Linked DNA regions of Homo sapiens: region 2 is linked to region 1. The links are contacts of gene promoters, found by promoter capture Hi-C in human tissues and cell types (Jung and others, 2019). All regions are on one chromosome and are shown on one strand. Each heading gives the region's core, a stretch centred on a gene start or on the middle of the fragment in contact. The rest is flanking DNA. Distances are from core to core; before and after follow the strand shown.

Region 1 (5,672 bases), core at 1,337-3,836:
GAACCTGGTGGGGGCCACAGGATGTTTTTCCGGGAGGATTTTCACATTACATTGCTACATGTCATATGGTTAGTGCTAATTGATCCAGACTCCCAAACGGCTCCTTCCACCATCAGGATCAAGGCCCCAATCTTGGGGTCTGTCCATCAGCCTAAGCCAAGCTTTTTTGGACTCACATTTGTGACTTTCTTGGACTCATATTTGGCTCTTTCCAATGCACATTTGAGCATTTGCCAGACAGTTCCTTAAAAATGGAATTACCCTATTCTGTCTACCATACTACTGTCTACTATTGCTTAAGATCCTCCTCTTCTAAGATTATGCAAATTATTTCTGCCAACCTTCCAATCTGTTAGCAGAATCCTGTACTTTCCATTTTTGGGTAGATTCTCCCTTCCACTCTGGGAAATAAAGTGTATGCCGTGAGCCTCAAGGGAAGAGGAGCTTCCTTTGTGAATGCTTCATATTTGCTTCAGCAGCTGCAAGGCTGGTGTCCACTACTAATTCTGACATCGACTTATATACTTTCTTTGAGACTAAAGTCCAGTACCCGGTAGTCCACAGGCAGCCAATAAAGGAAGGGAGCCTGGGAGGTCTGGGTCTTTCCTTACTGGCTGTGGGACCTTGGGAAGTTGCTCCAGCTATCTGAGCCAGGGTCTGCAGACTGAGAGAATAGTCCTTGCCTTGCTTGGGTTGTTGTCAGGTCTAGAGATAACCTGTGTAAGGCTCTGAACACAGGAAATGGCACATAGTAAGTGGCTGAAACATGGTGGGCTGCTTCCTGAGGTTCCCAGGGACTTGACTCTATAAGCTGAAGAAGAGGGGAATGTTTATTAACTCATGGGTGGGAACATGTATTTTGTGATTGTATTTACCCTTCACATCTGTTCAATTAGATTGAAAATTACTGCAGAACCAGTACCAGCTGTTTCTTTGGGGTACTCAAGGGATGATGCAGGGTTGAAGCATTAGAATGTTTTAAAATTCTCTGACTGAGATGGGATGATTCTCTGACGTTAGTATATGGACATAATAGAAAGGCACACAGTAAAAATGTGCTGCTGTCTAGGAAAGCAGGGAAGGAGGCTCAGGCTGGCTCCGTTTTCCACCTCCTGGCTCTGTGCCCATTTCCCTGCAGCTCACCGTGGCCACCAGCCGCTCCCGGTCCTCCGCCTTCCCCACATGGCACACGGTGCCCGTCACGCTCAGCCCCTCCCCCTGCAGCGTGGCCACCGCCTGGTCCACATTCTGCTGCTTCCGGCTGCTGACGACCACATGGGCCCCGTCCTGGGCCAAACGCCGGGCGATGGCGAAGCCGATCCTGTGAGCAGAAAGAGACAAAGACTGCTAAGGCCTGTGCAGGGGAAGAGGTCGACAGTATGAGCTCTGAAGTTAAGACTGCCCGGGTTTGAATTCTGGCTCTTTCTCTATATAACCCCTACGTGTGCCTACTATGTGTAAAACAGGCTTAATGGCATGGCCATTTTTGGCATTCCTTTACTTGTTTTTATTATGACCTGGACCACAGCCTCAGTTCCCAAGAACTGACATCACTTTCTACAGTTCCCACCATGGGTGACAGGCTTCATCCCCTCTTGGGACTGAGAGGTGAGAAATGAGCTGGGTTTGCAGCAGCAGCCACTTCCGTGATTTGAGGGTCTCACTCAGAACAGCCCTGCCCCCAGGTTTCTTTCTTACTCGTCTACATCATTCTCAAAATTCTATCCTTAGTTATTTTTTGGGGTGCATGTGAAAAGATGGTCTCCGGTCAAAAATGTAAATATTGCCTTGGGAGGAAGAGTTACACATTTTGCATTTGTCAGCTATTAGCATTTTACCTACATTTGTATTTTAGTTTTGTGAAGAGCTGGCATCTAGCAAAGTCCTGTAGAAATGAGGACCAGGATAGACAAGAATGGTGGGTGAGAAACAGGCTGGGCAAGGTCGGCCCAGATGTACCGACCTAAACAAAAATCTCGACATATGGCTCTGGTGTCCCATCTAGGTAAGGGGGAGGGGTTCCGGGGGACTTTCCGGTGCCCAAATAGAATGTCTGGTACATTTTCAAAGTGCTGGAGGCCGTGGGATAGTATTTTGAAATCCAGATTTCCTTGGATTTCCAGTTTCTGGTCTTCCCAGACGCTAGGTGGCGCTGGTTGACTGGGGCAGCCCAGAACACTGGGGAGACTAGATCGATAGGGCTGCACAGAGGTGGCACAGTTGTGCCAGAGGTAGCAGGGACAGGAGGGCTGGCAAGGGAGGGTCCAGGGCTAGGGGATTCGGAGTGGCTTCAGGCGGACCACGTGGCTACCTTTTTTCCAGGGCCAGACTTTGGCAGCGTGTAAGGTCTGAGGACAGGGGCACCGGAGGCCGAGGATGAGAGGCCAGTGCCTGTTTCCAGGCAGCCAGGGCCTCAGAAACTCCGGCCGGAGCACTCACCCGTCGGTGGAGGCCGTTACCAGGGCCACCTTATTTGCGAGCGGGTCCCGGCGGGTCATCCCGGAGCTGGCCATCCGCACCGAATTCCAAGCCCGGGCACAGAGGCCTAGCAGCCCCGCCTTGTGCATGGATCAGACCAGCAAGTATGGGTTCCACTCTTCCCAGGGGCGGTGACAGAGTAGGGCGAGGGGCAGGACGAAGGGCGGGCCGATTCCCTGCCCGCCCTGCTCCCCGCCCCGGTACCGCTGTGAGCGGTCTGTGGCCCTGGGCACCTCCATCCGCCGCGGCGCCCCTCCACCATCTACCTTCCGCCTGACTGGGGCTTGCCTTTCCGGGCTGGCGGGTGAGCTCTCCGTTCAAGTTGCCTGTAGGGCTCGCCCCTCCCCTGGCCCTTGCAGGAACCCGCAGGCTTTGGCTGCTGCCTTTCTGCATCTGCTTGCCCACCTTTTCTTCTCTGGGAAGTGGGGGTTTTGAGTTGGTTGCTTTTGCTTCTTCAGAATTCCTTCTCCAAGAAAGTCTGGGTCTATGTGTGTGACAGCCCACAGGAGGGCAAATGTTTTGAGACTGCCCATGGAGGTGAGGCCTGTGGTCGCCATGGAGTCCACCAGGTGAGGCTGGAAGAGCCTGGGAGAGAGACGTGATAGGGAGTAGCTGCGCCAGGCCTGGCACTGCCCTTCACTCTGCCCAAGGTCTCTTCCATCTTCACGGGCCCTGGAGGGCAGACTATGGTCATTGGCCAAACAGCATTCTCATGTCCGTTGACAAAGGGACTTCCTCCTTTACAGGGGCTAAGTGGTAGCGAGGAGGCTGGACAGTCCCTCAAGCAGTGGTGGAAATGCAAAGAACTCGGGGCACTCAAGTTCTCCCTAACCACTCTGTCCCCAGGTCTTAGCCGCCATCTTAGTTCAATAAATATTTGTTGAATGCAAAATCTCTTTATGAACTGTAAGCTACTAAGCACATAGTAGTTACTGCCACCATGTAGTGATTATTATTGGTGCCCTGGGCCAGACTCTTCATCTGTAAATTACTGAGGGTATGGATGATGAATAAAGTCCTTGCCAGCTATAAATTCTGTGTCCAAGACTTCAGTCTGCACTTCTGCCAAGTGGGCTGAAATGATCTCCCTCCTGGGTTTCCGGGAGAATGAAGAAATCTGGATGGCTTATGGTACAGTGTAGAAAGGCCCCAACAGACCCAAATGCAAGCATCTGAATTGGTTTAACCCACTGGCCTCCAAAGCCAGACTGAGAAGCAGTGCTGGTTCATGGCAGCGTTTTCACTAGTTCAAGGCAAAATGAGAAAAGGAAACAATTACAGTGAGTTTCATAAAGCTAAGCTTATTTAACAGTCCTTTATTGTGGAGTATACGTTTGCTTCTTTTTGTGTGTGTGTGTGTGTGTTAGTGTTTTCTTTTAGAAAAGATGATGAAAGCAGATGGGTAGGTTTAGAGATGTGTTATTGGTGAAATCACCAGTTTGGCAGCCTTATGCCAGTCCCTACAATTAAAGGGGAAAGAATCCTGGTTTGTGAAATCCAGTTCTAGGCATGACTTTTGAATAGAATTCATGTTTGCTCAAGATTCATTTAGTATATGTGCAGGTAAGCTGAGCAGCTGAAAAAGGGTTTCAACATTCAAAAGGGGGTGTATGGTGAGCAAGTAATAGAACGGCCTGCACTGGAATTCTAGTGTTTTCCTCAGCCAAGAAGTTACAGCTGCAATACTCTGCTTTGCTACTCAGCAGATCCCGATGAGACAGGAGAGCTTCAGTATAATTTTCCCCATGTCCAGGGAAGGCTGACTCTGACTGGTGCTCCTCAGTCTGAGCCTCATGAATTATTGACAGAGGCTGGAAGCGCCACACTGCTTGTCCTCTTGCACTGTTTGGAGCTAACGCACTGTGGGAACCCTTCCCAGGGCTCTCCATCTGTGTGTGCGGCTGGGGGAGGGTACACAGGAGGACGGCTGCGGGGGTTCTCAGGGCTTGGTTCAAAGGGACAGGCCTGCAGGGGGCGTTTGATCTCTCTTTCCCTTCTCTTCAGAGGTAGACAGGTGGACTCAGGGGCTGAGGTTGGCAGGAAGGTGAGGAAGACTACACTTCAAAGAGCAAAGGATTCTGGGAAGAGAGAATTGTGGCTTGGGTGCTTGGTGAACATTACATGGCCCTTCCTTGTGTGGGCAGGGTTGCTATTTGGCCTCTAGCACTATTTCTTTTGTGGAGAGCACAGGGGACATTAGGGAGGGGGCCTGTGAGCAGAAAAGGATGGAAGGAAGTCAAGAAGTATGGGACTCTCTAGCACTACTCCTCATCAAGCTCGCTTATTGGAGATAAGAACAGGAAATCTTGGGCTGGGCATGGTGGCTCACACCTGTAATCCTCTTTACTAACAATACGAAAATTAGCTGGGCGTGGTCAGAAGTTCGAGATCAGCCTGGCCAACATGGTGAAACCTCATCTCTACTAAAAATACAAAAACCAGCCGGGCCTGGTGGCATGTGCCTGTAATCCCAGCTACTCAGGAGGCTGTGGCAGGAGAATTGCTTGAACGTGGGAGGCAGAGGTTGCAGTGAGCCAAAATCATGCCATTGCACTCCAGCCTGGGCAGCAGAATGAAAGACTCCATCTAAATAAATAAATAAATAAATAAATAAATAAATAAATAAATAACGGGAAATCTTTCAGGGAAATACATGCATATGTGGGAGTATCTCTTTGAAATGGGAACTGTAACAGGCAATGGGATTGTTCTTACATGGAGGTGGTAACATCTGCCTATCTTGAGGGACAAATGCCTTCATGAGTGAGGGCACTACTCCCATCCTTTTCAAGGGCTGCCTGCGGTCCAGAAGAGATTTCACCTGGGGTGGAATTTAAGTCTTGCGTTTTGCAATAGCTGTCCTAGATTGAGTCGAGTCCTGCATCACTGACACAAGTCAGAATTAGGCAATGTGGGAGGGCTGGTGTGGGGTTAGGACAACTACCAAGCAGAGAAAGTAATAGTAAGAGTGTTAACAGTATTTATTGAGCACTTCCTTACTAAATGCTGGCAAGCGTTAAGTGCTTTTTATAAATTTTATTGAATATTTTTAGTCTGGTGAAATGGGTGTTTTAATGTAGGGAGCCAAAGGCCTGAGGGTCGTGACCAACTCAGCATTCCACTGAAGGCTGTATGATCTAACAGCAAACTGTTTATCATGAATGCAGAATGTGGGCAAACTCACTTCTGCGCCT
Region 2 (5,672 bases), core at 1,595-4,094, 350 kb after region 1:
GTCTACAGTCCTGTGGGGAAGGCATATTTAAGTAACTACAAGCCAGGTAGAAAAACTGCGGTGTCACAAGGAAAGGGCACACAAAGTGCCATGAGGGAGTGATAACTTTTAACTAGTAGCTCAAGGAAGGATTTGAGGTGAAAGTGGCATTTGCACTGGGTTTGGAAGACTCTGGACAGGCAGAGATGAGAAGGAGCATGTAACTGAAACTACAAGTTGTCTCCTAATGTCTGTTTCCTCTTCTTCCACAGTAATCATATTCCAAAATGTTAGCTGTGCAATTGACCACTGAGAATAAAGGCTATATTTCCCAGCTGCCCTTGCAGCCAGGCACGGCTACCTGACCATGTTCTGCATAAAAGGTTATAGAGAAGTCAGGGATGAAACTTCCATGAGGTGTTCTCAAGTGGAAGGAGCATGCCCACCTCCTTTCTTTGTCTCCCTCCTGCTGTCTAGAACATGACTCTGATGACTGGAGACAAAGCAGCTATCTTTGGCCTCAGAAGGCACATGTTGAGGATGTGGACTACAATGTTGAGGCAGTCTGATCACGAAGGCACGATATGAGGCCCGCTACAGTCTTGTTTAAGCCACTGTTACAAGTGTCTTAGGTTGGGTTACCACAGCAGATCCTAAGACAAGGCTTTATGTGCAAGTAGTTTATTAAACAGATGCTCCCAGCAGGGAGCAATGGCTCCTATCTATAATCCCAGAACTTTGGGAGACCAAGACAGGAGGATTGCTTGAGGCCAGAAGTTTCAGACCAGCCTGAGTAACATAGTGAGACCCCTGTCTCTACAAAAAATTTAAAAATTAGCTGATCAGGTCATGTGTGCCTGTAGTCCCAGCTACTCAGGAAGCTGAGGCAGGAAGTTCCTTTGAGCATAGTAGTTTGAGGTTACAGTGAGCTATGATTATGCCACTGCACTCCAGCCTTAGTGGCAAAGTGAGACCTTGTCTCAAAAATAAAAATTAAAAAAATGCTCCCAGGAGAAACCAGTAAGGGAGTGTGGAAAGTAAGACAGGGAAGGGAGGAGGACAAGCAAGGGAATGTTTCAGCAAAGCCCCAGCCTTAGCCTGGTCCCAAAGGTCAGTTCTGGAGTGTAAACTACACCTCACAGTTTGCCCAGATTTCAGACAATGGAACTAGGCTGTTACCTAGTTCAGCTAAAGGCTGCCCCTGCTTCTCTCGATGTGCAGAAGCTGTGGGAGATGATTAAACGGGTCACAGGGGCTCTGGTGCAACCTCAATGGGCCCCTTACACTGGGTTTTCTCTCACTCATAACTTAACCTAATCCTAAAAAGTACCAAAAACATTTCTGGCAGAGGGGAGAGTATAAATAAAGTGCACAGAACCTGAAGGAACAAGAGGCTATATGAAAGTATTGGAAAGGAAGAGGACAGGAAAGAAAGAAATAGGAAACAAATTTGGAAAACCAAACTGTAGTCACTGGGACTTGATATGGTTTGGCTGCGTCCCCACCCAAAACTCATCTTGAATTGTACCTCCCCACATCTCGCTTCTGCACTGCCCTAGCAGAGGCTCTCCATGAGGGCCCTGCCCCTGCAGCAAACTTCTGCCTGGACATCCAGGCATTTCCATACACAGCAGTCGGGGCCTGGAAATGTAGGGTTGAAGCCCCCACACAAAGTCCCCACTGGGGCACTGCCTAGTGGAGCACCATCCTCCAGACCCTAGAATGGTAGATCCACCAACAGCTTGCACCATGCACCTGGAAAAGCCGCAGACACTCAACACCAGCCCATAAAAGCAGCCGGGAGGGACTTTGTACCTTGCAAAACCGCAGGAGTAGAATGACATGGTTTGGCTATGTCCCCATACTGTTCTCATGATAGTGAATAAGTCTCACGAGATCTGATGTTTTTATAAGGGGCTTCCCCTTTTGCATGGCTCTCTATCTTGCCTGCCACCATGTAAGAAGTCCCTTTGCTCTTCCTTGGTCTTCTGCCATGACTGTGAGGCCTCCCCAGCCATATGGAACTGTGAGTCCATTAAACCTCTTTTTCTTTATAAATCACCCAGTCTTGGGTATGTTTTATCAGCAGCGTGAAAATGAACTAATACAGAACTGTATAAAATTTTGAATTTCTGGCCAATGCATAAACAAAGGGAAACCAAAAGGACTTTGAATCTGATGATTCAGAAGATTAATCTGGCAACTATGTGTGAGAGGAATTGGAATGAAACTTGTGTAGGGTAATACCCATTATGAGGTCATATCTATAATCCAGGCAAGAGGTAATGGTGGCACAACCCCAGGTGATGGTGCTGGGAAGGGAAAGTAGAGAATAGTTGCGAAGTCTTACAGAGAAAGATCTGGTCTTTCTAAATGCTTTGACACGAGAGAAAAGAGACAGAGAGGATCCAAACATGAAGCCAGGGACAATGGTGGCATTGCCAACAAAAATAGGTAACAGAGGAGAAGAAACAAGCTTGATAGAAAATATGAATTCTACCTATTGACATGGTGACTTTGAGATGAAGGGAAGCCTTCTAAATGGAGTTGTCAAGAAGGCAGTTAGAAATGCAAGACTGATAACAGAATTCAAGCATGGAGCCATGGATGTGTGCATTGTCTACAGAGATGTGATAGAAGCCATGACTGTGGATAGGATTACTAAGGGAGGGAGGGCAGAGACAGAAGAGGAAAAGGCCAGTATAAGATACTTGTAAGTTGTGCTGTTTGCCTGTTGCCTCTTGGGCCCATGCCACCCTCCCCTGTGGTGTGAGGGCCAAGGGACTGCCAACAGCCTTTCCCAGACTCTCTCTTGCCAGCTGGCTTCCTATTCAATTCTGCTACTAAGAGGCACTGAGACGTGGCTGAAGGACATAGGGTGAGAGAAGGGTTTTCCTCCTGTTTCCAGCTCCTGTCAATGTCCCTCCAGGAGGACTCTAGCCTAGGGCTTAGCAAACTTTTTCTGTAAAGAGCTGGACATGAAGTAGTTTAAGCTTTGCAGGCCATATGGTCTCTGTTATAACTCCTCAACTCTGCCATTGTACTGCAAGAGCAGACATAAACAATATATAAATGAATAAGGATGACCACATTGCAATAAAACTTTATTCATGGACACTGGAGTTTGAGTGTTTTATAATTTTCATGTGCCATGAGATATATCTTCCTTTTCGGTTTTATTTTCAGCCATTTTTAAAATATGAAGAATATTCTTTTTTTGTTTGCTTGTTTTTTGAGATGAACTCTTGCTCTGTCACCCAGTCTGGAGTGGAGTGGCGCAATCTCGTCTCACTGCAACCTCTGCCTCCCGGGTTCAAGCAACTCTCCTGCCTCAGCTTCCCAAGTAGCTGGGACTACAAGTGTGCACCACCATGACTGGCTAATTTTTTTTTTTTTTTGTATTTTTAGTAGAAACAGGATTTTGCCACATTGGCCAGACCGGTCTCGAATTCCTGACCTCAGACCATCCACCCGCCTCGGCCTCCCAAAGTGCTGGGATTACAGGCGTGAGCCCCGTGCCTGGCCAAAATGTGAAGAACATTCTTAGCTCGTGGGCCATGGAGAAACAGGTGGCAGCTGGATTTGGCCTATGGGCAATAGGTTGCCCGTGCTAGCTCCCAATTCTTCAGACACTCCTGGCAGCAGGTGAACTGCACCTCCTGGAGATACCAGCGCCCCAGAGGCTCAACCCCATCACAATGCATCCTCATTCTGTGGTCTGAACATGGGCCAGGCAAGGCTGAGCCTGGAGGCTCTGGTGGCCCCACTTCTTCTCTTCTGTCCCTCCAGCCCTGAGAAGGAACTCCTGTAGTTACCATATCTGGTCACTGCAGCATCTCCATTTGCCCTTCCAACCCTCCAACACTGGAGTAGTCAATTCCCTGAATACATCCCTTCTGTAAGAAATGCCTTGCATGGAATCGTTTTCCTGCTTGGACTCTGACTGACACAGAAATCCTTCCATTTTAGGGAGGGGAAGAAGAAAAGGAAGCCAAAAGGGAGAAGTCAAAGACTGAAGAGGCAAATTAGGAGTGTCCCCACACTGAAGGGAAAAGAAGCTCAGGAAGAAGGTCCTGGGGAGCAGCAGTTGCCACTGCTGAGAGGTGAAGAGGATGCCTGCGAAGAGGGTGATGAGCTGAGGAACTTCCAGAAGTCATCCTCAGGGGGTGGCAGGGGCCCGGGAGCTGGAGGCAGACAAGACACAGCCTCCTCTTGTGAGAGTTTGTGAGAGGCAGGGTCTGAGGCAGTCCCTTGTGATGCAGGAGAGAAGCATGGAGATGGCTCTGCCCGTGTCAGGACTGTCAATCCTCCCAGTTGGCAAACACATGGAACCCGGGGGTAGCCACCTTCCCTCCTGACTCTCTCCCTCCCTACACTGCACTTTCCTGGCCCTGCCTCTGATTACAGAACACACCTGGGCACTGGCTGAAGTTCCCTGCTCCTGCAGATATTCTTGTGGGTAAGCAAGCACAGGTGAATTACCAGGGATGCCCCTCCAAGAGCTGTCTTGTGAGCACAGAGGATTGTGGGTGTTTTAAACGTCTTCATGACATTAATTAATCCAGCAAATATTTATTCACCACCACCTGTGTGCTAGGCACTACTCTAGGTGGTATTGATACAGCAGTGAGTTAAAAAAATGCCTTCAAGGTGCTTATATTCTTGTGGGAGAGACAGGTAATAAACAAGTAGACATAAAAATGGCAGGTGCTGAGAAGTGCTCTGAAGAAAAATACAACAAGGTGAGGGGGACAGGGAGTGCAGGATGTGAGTGATTTTTTTCTCTGGCCCATATCAGGATGGCCTCTCTGAAGAGTTGACAAGTGAGCAGAGGCTTAAATAAGTGAGAGTGAAGAATGTTCCAGGCAGTGGGAAAAACCAAGGCAGAAGCAGGAGGTAGGAGAGTGTTTGGCATAGTTCGAGGGACAGCAAGGAGGCTTAGTGTACCTGGAGTAAATAGGCTGAAAGAGAGGGATAGGAACTAACTCAGAGAGGGTTAGGCTTTGAGTCACGATGAGGACTTAGCTGTTACTCTGAGCAGTGGGTTTGAACACAGAAGTGACACATCTAATTTTCATGTAAAAGATTGACCATGACAACTATGGGGAGAAGAAACTGCAAGATGACCCCTCCATTCTCAGAATGATGTTACTCTTCTAAAAATAGAGCTAGAAAGTCATATCCCACAAGTGTAGGTTGGTGCTCAAGTGGCTGAGTACAAGAATAATAGAAGAAAAGCTGTGAGTCAGAGTTGGCCACAACCTAAACATGAATTAGGAGTGTCATGCCACGGGGAAAACTCAAAAGGCAGACAACCCTGGGATGTGTTGGTATAGCCATGGGACACGCAAAGACTGGGACACTGACTTTGTGCGTGTTCAGCATAAGTGGGCTTCCTGCCATGCCTTCTGTTTGCAATGCTTCCCACCTGTCCCACAGTCTAGGCTGTACACAGGCCTGTCTCCCTCCACAAGCACTTCCTCCCAGTGTTTTTCCTTCCGTCTGTGTCTTTTGTGCTGTCATTCGGTCAGCAACTACCATGTATAAAACTTAATGAGCAGTGCCATGGGAGAGTCTCTGATAAGTGCTTGGAGCTCAAATCCTTTGTTAATTGTATCTAGACAGCTATGTCTGCTGTTGGCACAAATCTCTCTTGTTGGCCCCTTCAAGTTTATCCTCTAACTGTGGGCTTT

What was found. The method cuts DNA at HindIII sites, captures the fragments that hold promoters and counts their contacts. A contact is called where the count stands out against the background at its distance.
Region 2: a fragment that was not itself captured here is called in contact with the fragment with the promoter of DHRS4 in region 1 in 2 of the 25 tissues and cell types used here (H1 embryonic stem cells and lymphoblastoid cells).

Annotation. Positions count from the first base shown.
Region 1 is chr14:23,950,684-23,956,355 of GRCh38, reverse strand. DHRS4 (dehydrogenase/reductase 4) reads right to left here and starts at 2,586. Exons shown (of 8, transcript NM_021004.4): 1 at 2,440-2,586; 2 at 1,144-1,321. The coding sequence starts at 2,567. DHRS4-AS1 (DHRS4 antisense RNA 1) reads left to right here and starts at 1,244. Exons shown (of 2, transcript NR_023922.2): 1 at 1,244-1,608. RefSeq lists enhancers at 1,945-2,074, 2,125-2,254, 2,865-3,064. The HindIII fragment of the contact is 7,990 bases long and covers 1-5,672 here.
Region 2 is chr14:23,605,760-23,611,431 of GRCh38, reverse strand. No RefSeq gene overlaps it. Among named protein-coding and RNA genes, the nearest start is that of DHRS2, 28 kb to the left of the region's middle. RefSeq lists an enhancer at 5,034-5,243. The HindIII fragment of the contact is 3,253 bases long and covers 1,218-4,470 here.